Linked DNA regions of Homo sapiens: region 1 is linked to region 2. Evidence: promoter capture Hi-C in 16 types of primary human blood cells and fetal thymus (Javierre and others, 2016). All regions are on one chromosome and are shown on one strand. The core of a region is centred on a gene start or on the middle of the fragment in contact, and the rest is flanking DNA. Distances in the headings are between cores, read along the strand shown. Region 1 overlaps SNX29 (sorting nexin 29). Region 2 holds the start of CPPED1 (calcineurin like phosphoesterase domain containing 1).

Region 1 (3,870 bases), core at 672-3,171, 720 kb before region 2:
GGATTACTTGAGGCCGGGAGTTCAACACCACCAGTCTGGGCAAGTGAGACCCTGTCTTTACAAATAAAACAACAACAAAAATTATCCAGATGTGGTGGTGCATGCCTGTAGTGTCAGCTACTTGGGAGACTGATGTGGGAAGATCACTTGAACCCAGGAGTTCAAGCCTTCAGCGAGCTGAGATTGCACCACTGCACTCCAGCCTAGTTAACGGAGTGAGAACCTGTCTTAAAAAAAAAAAAATTGGAAAATGCAACAGTAAATGAAAAAAGAAAATCAGTCTTAACCCTCAACTTCATTATGTTGTTGATGTTTTGGTACTTTTCCTCCTAGTCATGGTGTGTGTGTGTGTGTGTGTGTGTGTGTGTGTGTGTGTGTGTATCTCTGTTAACCATGTGATGACCGTGCTGTTCTCACCAAAGACACTAAACTTTATTTTTCATGTTGTAAATTATTTGTAAACATACAGTTGATTCTTATTATTCCCAGTAGTTGTATTCTATAAAGTTGCTATGAAGACTGAACCAGTGCTCCTAGGGGAAGTACATGGTTAAGTTGCTTTGAGGCTCTGGTCACACATTTTGTTTTTGAGATGAACTGTTGCTCTTTTGCCCGGGGCTGGAGTGCAGTGGCGTGATCTTGGCTCACTGCAACCTCTGTTTCCTGGGTTGAAGTGATTCTCCTGCCTCAGCCTCCCAAGTAGCTGGGATTACAGGCATGTGCTACCACACCCAGATAATTTTTGTATTTTTAGTAGAGAAGGGGTTTTGCCATGTTCGCCAGGCTGGTCTCGAACTCCTGACCTCATGTGATCCACCCGCCTCGGCCTCCCAAAGTATTGCGATTACAGGCATGAGCCACCACACCTGGCCTGGTCACAGCATTTTTATCAACTGATCAACACATAACCTGGTTTTATGTCTGTTCCTGTTTAAAGACACCTTGTTTAATGTATGCAGTTGATTCATTAACATTGAATTCACAGCCAGCAGCACTGTAAGCCATGCCTGAATGAAGCATCTCTAACTCACAAATTATCTCCATACGGCACATCACAGCCTTCCTGTGCTTAGGAACTGTCGGCAGTACCACTTCAGCACTGTGCTTGGGGACATTTTAAACAATAAAATCAAGTGGAAAAAAAGGCCGGGTGTGGTGGGTCATGCCTGTAATCCCAGCACTTTGGGAGGCTGAGGCAGGTGGATCACTTGAGGTCAGGACTTTGAGACCAGTCTGGCCAACTTGGCGAAACCCCATTTCTAGTAAAAATACAAGAATTAGTCGGGTGTGGTGGTGCGGGCCTGTAATCCCAGCTACTTGGGAGGCTGAGGCACAAGAATCGCTTGAACCCAGGAGGTGGAGGTTACAGTGAGCCGAGATCACGCAAAAGAAAGAAAAGTGGAAAAAAAAATGCTAAAAACATGGCAGTAAATAGACAGCAAAGAGGATGCTTGTTTACGGTGTGAGATCTGAGGTCCCAGCTGTTCGACTTCAGCTGAGATTATGCACATTAGGGAGTGAAATTATTGGCCTCTGCACGTGTTCATGAATGATTGTGAAAGCACCTCAAGTATTGACTTTGGGGTTACAAATAAATTTTAGTGCGTAGATGAATTTCCAAATACGGAATCTGCAGATAACGAGGCCTGACTAATTTCCAATGACTGCCTCTATCCCTTCTAGTAGAGGTACCGGAGTAAACCGACCTCTGCTAGTTTTTGGAATGGTGAGGGTGTGTACTTTCAGTGGCCGAGTGTAACTTCCTCCTGCCTGCTTTTTCCTAGTGTGGAAGCCAGCTCTCCAGGCCACGGAAGTCCTCTGAGCAGCCTGTTACCTTCTGCCTCAGTGCCAGAGTCCATGACAATTAGTAAGTACTTTCGCAGCCCCCTCCACCAGCTCTGGGATGACTTCTGGCCCACGTCTCATGGCGGTGCCTTTGTGCTTCTAACCCTGTGACTGTGGGTTCACGTCAGGTGTGTACGTCCCTGGTTGTAGACTGGAGGTGTGGTACGTGCTTGTGGATATCCAGAACCGTGGTTAATGCGTGGCGCTTGGGCGTGTGCGCGCTAAAGGGCGTGCCTCAGGATGGAGCAGCCTTGCCGTAGACTTCTGTGGTTCCAGGTTTTGGGGTTTGCCTCCCATAATGCAGTTAGCTACAGAGGACCTATTCTAGTTGGATTTCCTTTGTAACTCTGAAGGACTCATTTTTGTAAGTGAAGAAGAATATGTCTCTCCAAGATGATTAAACTTTGCTAATGATCAGGCTTCAACTGTTTCCAACTTTACTACCTAGAAAAAGTATTAGAGATATAGCAAGGAAGACTAGGTTTGAATGGCTTTGTATAACAAAGAATAAACCAACTGTTATGTAAACTGACGGGTGCTCCTGGTATCTCACTGGTGGCTTGAGCCAGCATTTGTCCCATGGCCTCCCCTGGAGGCAGAGGGGGCACTTGTTCCCAATTAAAAAAAAAAATTAGCTTTTGTTGCTAAGGAAGGAAGAAGGCGTTTGGGAGGCACCTAGCATTTTCTGATTCAAGGGTGAAGCAGGAAGTGAGCAGACACTATGTAAACCAACAGTTGGTTTATTTTTTGTACACAAAGCCATTCAGACCTACTCTTCTTGAAGTTCCGGTGGTTAAGGAGATGTGATGGAAATTTCTCTCTATCCAGAGGTAGATGGGCTGGGGCTGGTATGTGGCTCCACGGCCATCAGAGACCGGGACTCCTCCTGTCTTGCCTTGTAGACCAAAATAGCCATTTTAGCTCCAGCCATTTCATTCTCATTCCAGGCGGCAGGAAGGAGGAGAGAGCAGAGAGACTTCGTCTATTTCTACATATAGGATTCAGGGGCCTGAGCTTGGATAGGGAAAAAAATTACAATGTTTTTCATTTAGCTCTGGGTGAAATATAGTATTTTCTTCAATCATGATCATTCTATTTTGATGTAATTGGTTTCCTTTGTGATATGGTATGTTTTATATATTTTAATACATTTTCCTGAATAGGAGCCCATGGTTATTCCTAGATTACAAAATGGGCTCTTGGTACAAAAACGTTGAAGCTCCCCCGACCTTCACTAGAAGGTGCTTACAGTATACCACTCGTGTCTTGGGCCAGCATTCATGTCATGGTCCCCCTTGGCTGCAGAGGGGGCAATTGTTCTTGATAAAAAGGAAATTAGTTTTTGTTGCTAAGGAAGGAAGAAAGAGTTTGGGAGGCACCCAGCATTCTTTGATTCAAGGGTGAAGCAGGAAGTGAGCAGACACCGTAAGGCTGCTGCGTGGGAACGGCTGGCCGCACTTTTTGTATGTGAGCATGTGTGGTTTACTGTGGCGCTGCTCAGCCCTGAACTCCGCTGAGCAGGTGTTAATAGATCACTCAGTCCATGGGACACAGGGTGGGTGAGTATGTAGCTGGCTGCTTTTCACCTGTCAATCTTTTGTTTACCACAGTACTGTTACTTACCCTATAGTTTACTTTATTATTCATTTTTATTTATTTATTTTTTTGTAGAGTTGAGGTCTCACCATGCTGTCCAGGCTGGTCTTGAACTCCTAGGATCAAGCGATCCACCCGCCTCAGCCTTCCAAAGCGCTGGGATGACAGGCATGAGCCACCGTGCCCGGCCTACTACAGTTTACTTTTTTTTTTTTTTTTGAGACAGAGTCTTGCTCTTGTCTCCCAGGCTGGAGTGCAATGGCACGATCTCAGCTTACTGCAACCTCCACCTCCTGGGTTCAAGCGATTCTCCTGCGTCAGCCTCCCAAGTAGCTGGGATTACAGGCCCACGCCCGGCTAATTTTTGTATTTTTAGTAGAGATGGGGTTTCGCCATGTTGGCCGGGCTGGTCTTGAACTCCTGACCTCA
Region 2 (3,852 bases), core at 1,210-3,709:
GCCCACAACAAATATTTCTTGAACTGAAAAAAAAAATAATACAGCAGAGTAACAGGGAACTCTCATATACTGCTGGTGGGAGTATAAATTGGCACTACCACTTTGGAAGGCAGTTTGACCACATCTAGTAATGCTGGGGATGATTATACCCTATAACCCAGAACATAGCTTGTAGGTATATGCCTCAGAGTAACTCTCCCATGTGTCCACAAAGAGATTTGTACAGAATGTTCATAACAGCACTGTTACCAAGGGCAAAAACCAGAAACAACTAAATGGCCATTGTATTAGTCAGGATCCTTGCAGGAAATAGTTGGCATTCTCAAATTAGGATGATTTTAAAAAGGGTTTAAAAAGGGATTACTTGGTGGGGGTTGGGTGGACGAAACCTACAAGGGAGTGTGGTAACCCAAGGTTAGAAAAGCAGAACCACTGCCACTCCCACGCCTCAAAGGAGGAAATGGTTACTCAAATCCAGAACTAGAGAGAATGAGGAGAAAAGCTGTCCTGAGAAAAGGAGCGACCTTGACCTTCAGGGGTGGGGAGGAAGACAGCCAGGCGAGGCAACCCCACAGAGTAAACTGCAAGAATAAATACAGCTGCCTTTTGCTTCTCTCCCTGCTCTGATTTCTTCTCAGGGCTCCCCACTGGCTGAGCCCAAAGGAAAACCAAAAGGCAAGGAGCCCACCGATGTAGCTCACGGAGGGCAAACCCCTGGGGCATGGTGGGGAAGGGAGAAAGGTTTGGAGAGGCAAAGGGAAGATATTCAGCATATACATCAACAGAATGTATAAGGTATATAATCATCCAATGGAATGTTGCCCAGCAAGAAAAGAGCAAAATCTTCATGTTGGACAAAAAAGACAAGGTCCATTAAAATACAGTCGTCCCAGGCCGGGCGCGGTGGCTCAGGTCTGTAATCCCAGCACTTTAGGAGGCTGAGGACGGCGGATCACCTGATGTTGTGAGTTCGAGACCAGCCTGGCCAACATGGAGAAACCCCATCTCTACTAAAAATACAAAATTAGCCGGGCGTGGTGGTGCGTGCCTATAGTTCCAGCTACTCCAGAGGCTGAGGCAGGAGAATCGCTTGAACCCGGGAGGCGGAGGTTACAGTGAGCCAAGATCGTGCCACTGCACTCCAGCCTGGGCAATAAAGCAAGACTCCGCCTTAAATGAATAAATAAGGTTTTACCATAGAATTACCGGAGAAACCTACTTTAGATAAGGTAGCAGGTAAAGTCTCTGAGGAAGTGAATGAACTTTAAAATGAGGTGTGACGGTTGAGAGAGCCAGGCTCACCAACCCTGCTAAAGAAGCAGAAAACAGCAAGCGCCAAGACCCTCAGGGAAAGAACGGCCTTGGCCCTTTTAAATGCAGTTCAAACAAGGGCAACAACAAAACCTGTTGCAGAACTGGGCAAGAGAGAGAATGACAACCCTGAAGGAAGTGGACACAAGCCTGATCATATAGGGCATTTAGGGTGACTTCCCTGGGGGTATAAAGCTGGTGAGAGCCTGGGAGGCGATCTGGCTGCAGGCAGCAAAAAGCCACAGAGGGGAATCAACAAACCAGAAACAAACCTCCCTCTTTACTTAGCACCTAGCATGCGTCCAACACCGGGTTACAAAAATACTTTTGATCTGTTTACGCTTCCAACAACCCTATGAGGCAGGTATTATCAAACCCATTTTTAAGGCAAAGCAGATAATCTAAATCCAAAATCCAAGCACTTCACTACGACTCTCGAATGCCCTCCCTCTCTACTGCTCTGATGGGGCAGTGTTACCATTTCGGTGAATGACTTAAATAAACGTCATTATGGAGTACAGAATACATAACGGTGAACAACCTTAATAAAACCGACACCCTCTAACATGCACCGAACGCTTATCCAGTAACACCCACAAGTATTCCCGTTTCACAGATGTGGAAGCTGAGGCCAAGATGCTAATGCACAGCTTGGAAACCAGGTCTCGCTGCAGAGTCCAAGCTGTCATTAACTATGCTTTGCTACCCTCCTCTTACTTCCCTTCTCTGGGGGAAGTTAGGTCAAGGCCAAGGAGGCTCCTAGACCAGATCGCTCTCTCGGCCTCGCCTCTCAACTGCGCCCCTGGAATCCCTAAGAGCAGGCTTTGATGCAGCTATGGCGGCTCCCAGGCCCCGGTGCAGCCCCGGATGGTGTCCGACTGGCGGAGCGCACACCTGAACAAAAGGTTCCCCCGGCGGAAGGTTCCGCAGCCCCAGAGTCCCCTCCCCGGGTGAGGGGCGGGCAGTACCTGCGGGAAACGCGGCCAGGGTCCTGCCCCTGGCTCTGTGGAAAACACCCCCCGCCTCTGCAGCCGACATGGCGAGCGAGTTTCTGGCCTTCACTTAGAACACTGCGTGGGTGGAAGCCGCGCGACTTCACACAGAACAACCGCTGGACCTGTCCCGCTTTGGGCGACGCCCTTTGATCTCGGGGCGGGACTGGGGCGGGACGGGGAGGGGCCCGGTGGCTCGGGGCGCCACTAGTGCTGCCTGGGCGGAGCGGAGGCGCCAGCGGCCCCTCTGGGATCGACCTGCGCGCCTGGCGAGTGGAGACTGTCTAGGGCACGCGTGGGCGGGGATAAGGCTTTGGGGTCAGTCCTTCCCTAAAGGCAGAGTTACTAGATTTAACAAGTAAAAATGCAGGACTCCCGGTTAAATTGGAATTTCAGATTTTTTTTTTTAAAGAATGACTGACTTGGTATAAATATGTCCTATGCAGTATTTGGGAGCTACTTACGTTAAATTTTTTTTTCATTATCTGAAATTCCAATTGAACTGGGCGTCCTAATTTTTTTAAATTTTTCTCTTTTTGCAGGTTTGAATGGAAGCGTCCTGATTTTTTTTTATCTGACAACTCTATCATAAAGTCAGAAGGAGCCACTGGGGTGGCTTACGCCTGTAACCCCAGCTCTTTGGGAGGCCAAGGAGGGAGGATCGCTTGAGTCCAGGTGTTGGAGACCAGCCTGGGCAACACGGCGAGAGACCTTGCCAATACAAAAAAAAAAAAAAAAAAGATGAAAAGGTGGACGTCTTGGAAGACTGTCTCAGCCTGAACTTCCCAGTGGCTGCCACCATCTTTCTGTTATTATCTTTGCTTGCTATGCACCAGGCAGGGCGCTAAGCACTTTGCACGCTGCTCACTTAATCCCCACTACAGCCCTAGGAGGTGGTGCTGTTATTAGCTGCATCCGTCATTTGGGGAAACTGACGCTCAGAGAGATGAACGAACTTGCACAAGGTGACACACATCTAGAGAGGTAGTAAAGCTGCGAGTAACCAAATTAGTGTCTCTTCAACTCAAGAGCCATTGTAGTGAACTACTTAGCCAGCATTTGTCAAACGTGTTGAAAATACAAATTCCAGAATGGACCTATTGAATCCAAATCTCTATGAAAATGATCTGTGTTTTGTTGTTGTTGTTGTTGTTTTGAGACAGGGTCTCACTCTGGTTGCCTAGGCTGGAGTGCAGTGGCACAATCTCTGCAGTCTCGATCTCCTGGGCTCAGGTGATTCTCCCACCTCAGCCTCCTAAGTGGCTGGCACTATTGGCGTGCGCCACCATGCCTGGCTAATACTTTGTATTTTTAGTAGAGACGAGTTTGACTATGTTGCCCAGGCTGATCTGGAACTCCTGAGCTCAAGCAATCCACCCACCCGGGCCTCCTAGAGTGCTAGGATTACAGGCATGAGCCACAGTGCCTGGCCTGAAAATGATCTGTTTTTAACAAGCACTGCAGGGGAGCTCTTATGATCTTACAAATTTGGGAAATTCTTTTCTAAACTAGCTGCCTACATCCAAAGCACTGTTTGAGTAGCTAATAT

What was found. Contacts are between HindIII fragments. The CHiCAGO score rates a contact against its expected background, and 5 or more counts as called.
Region 1: a fragment that was not itself captured here is called in contact with the fragment with the promoter of CPPED1 in region 2 in 5 of 17 cell types (naive CD8 T cells, naive CD4 T cells, total CD4 T cells and 2 more); the score reaches 13.0 in naive CD8 T cells.

Annotation. Positions count from the first base shown.
Region 1 is chr16:12,077,049-12,080,918 of GRCh38, forward strand. It overlaps SNX29 (sorting nexin 29), which reads left to right. Exons shown (of 21, transcript NM_032167.5): 11 at 1,785-1,867. Among named protein-coding and RNA genes, the nearest start is that of SNX29, 100 kb to the left of the region's middle. The HindIII fragment of the contact is 4,146 bases long and covers 1-3,870 here.
Region 2 is chr16:12,801,428-12,805,279 of GRCh38, forward strand. CPPED1 (calcineurin like phosphoesterase domain containing 1) reads right to left here and starts at 2,460. Exons shown (of 4, transcript NM_018340.3): 1 at 2,280-2,460. The coding sequence starts at 2,349. RefSeq lists enhancers at 640-719, 2,042-2,411 and a silencer at 2,492-2,541. The HindIII fragment of the contact is 13,841 bases long and covers 1-3,852 here.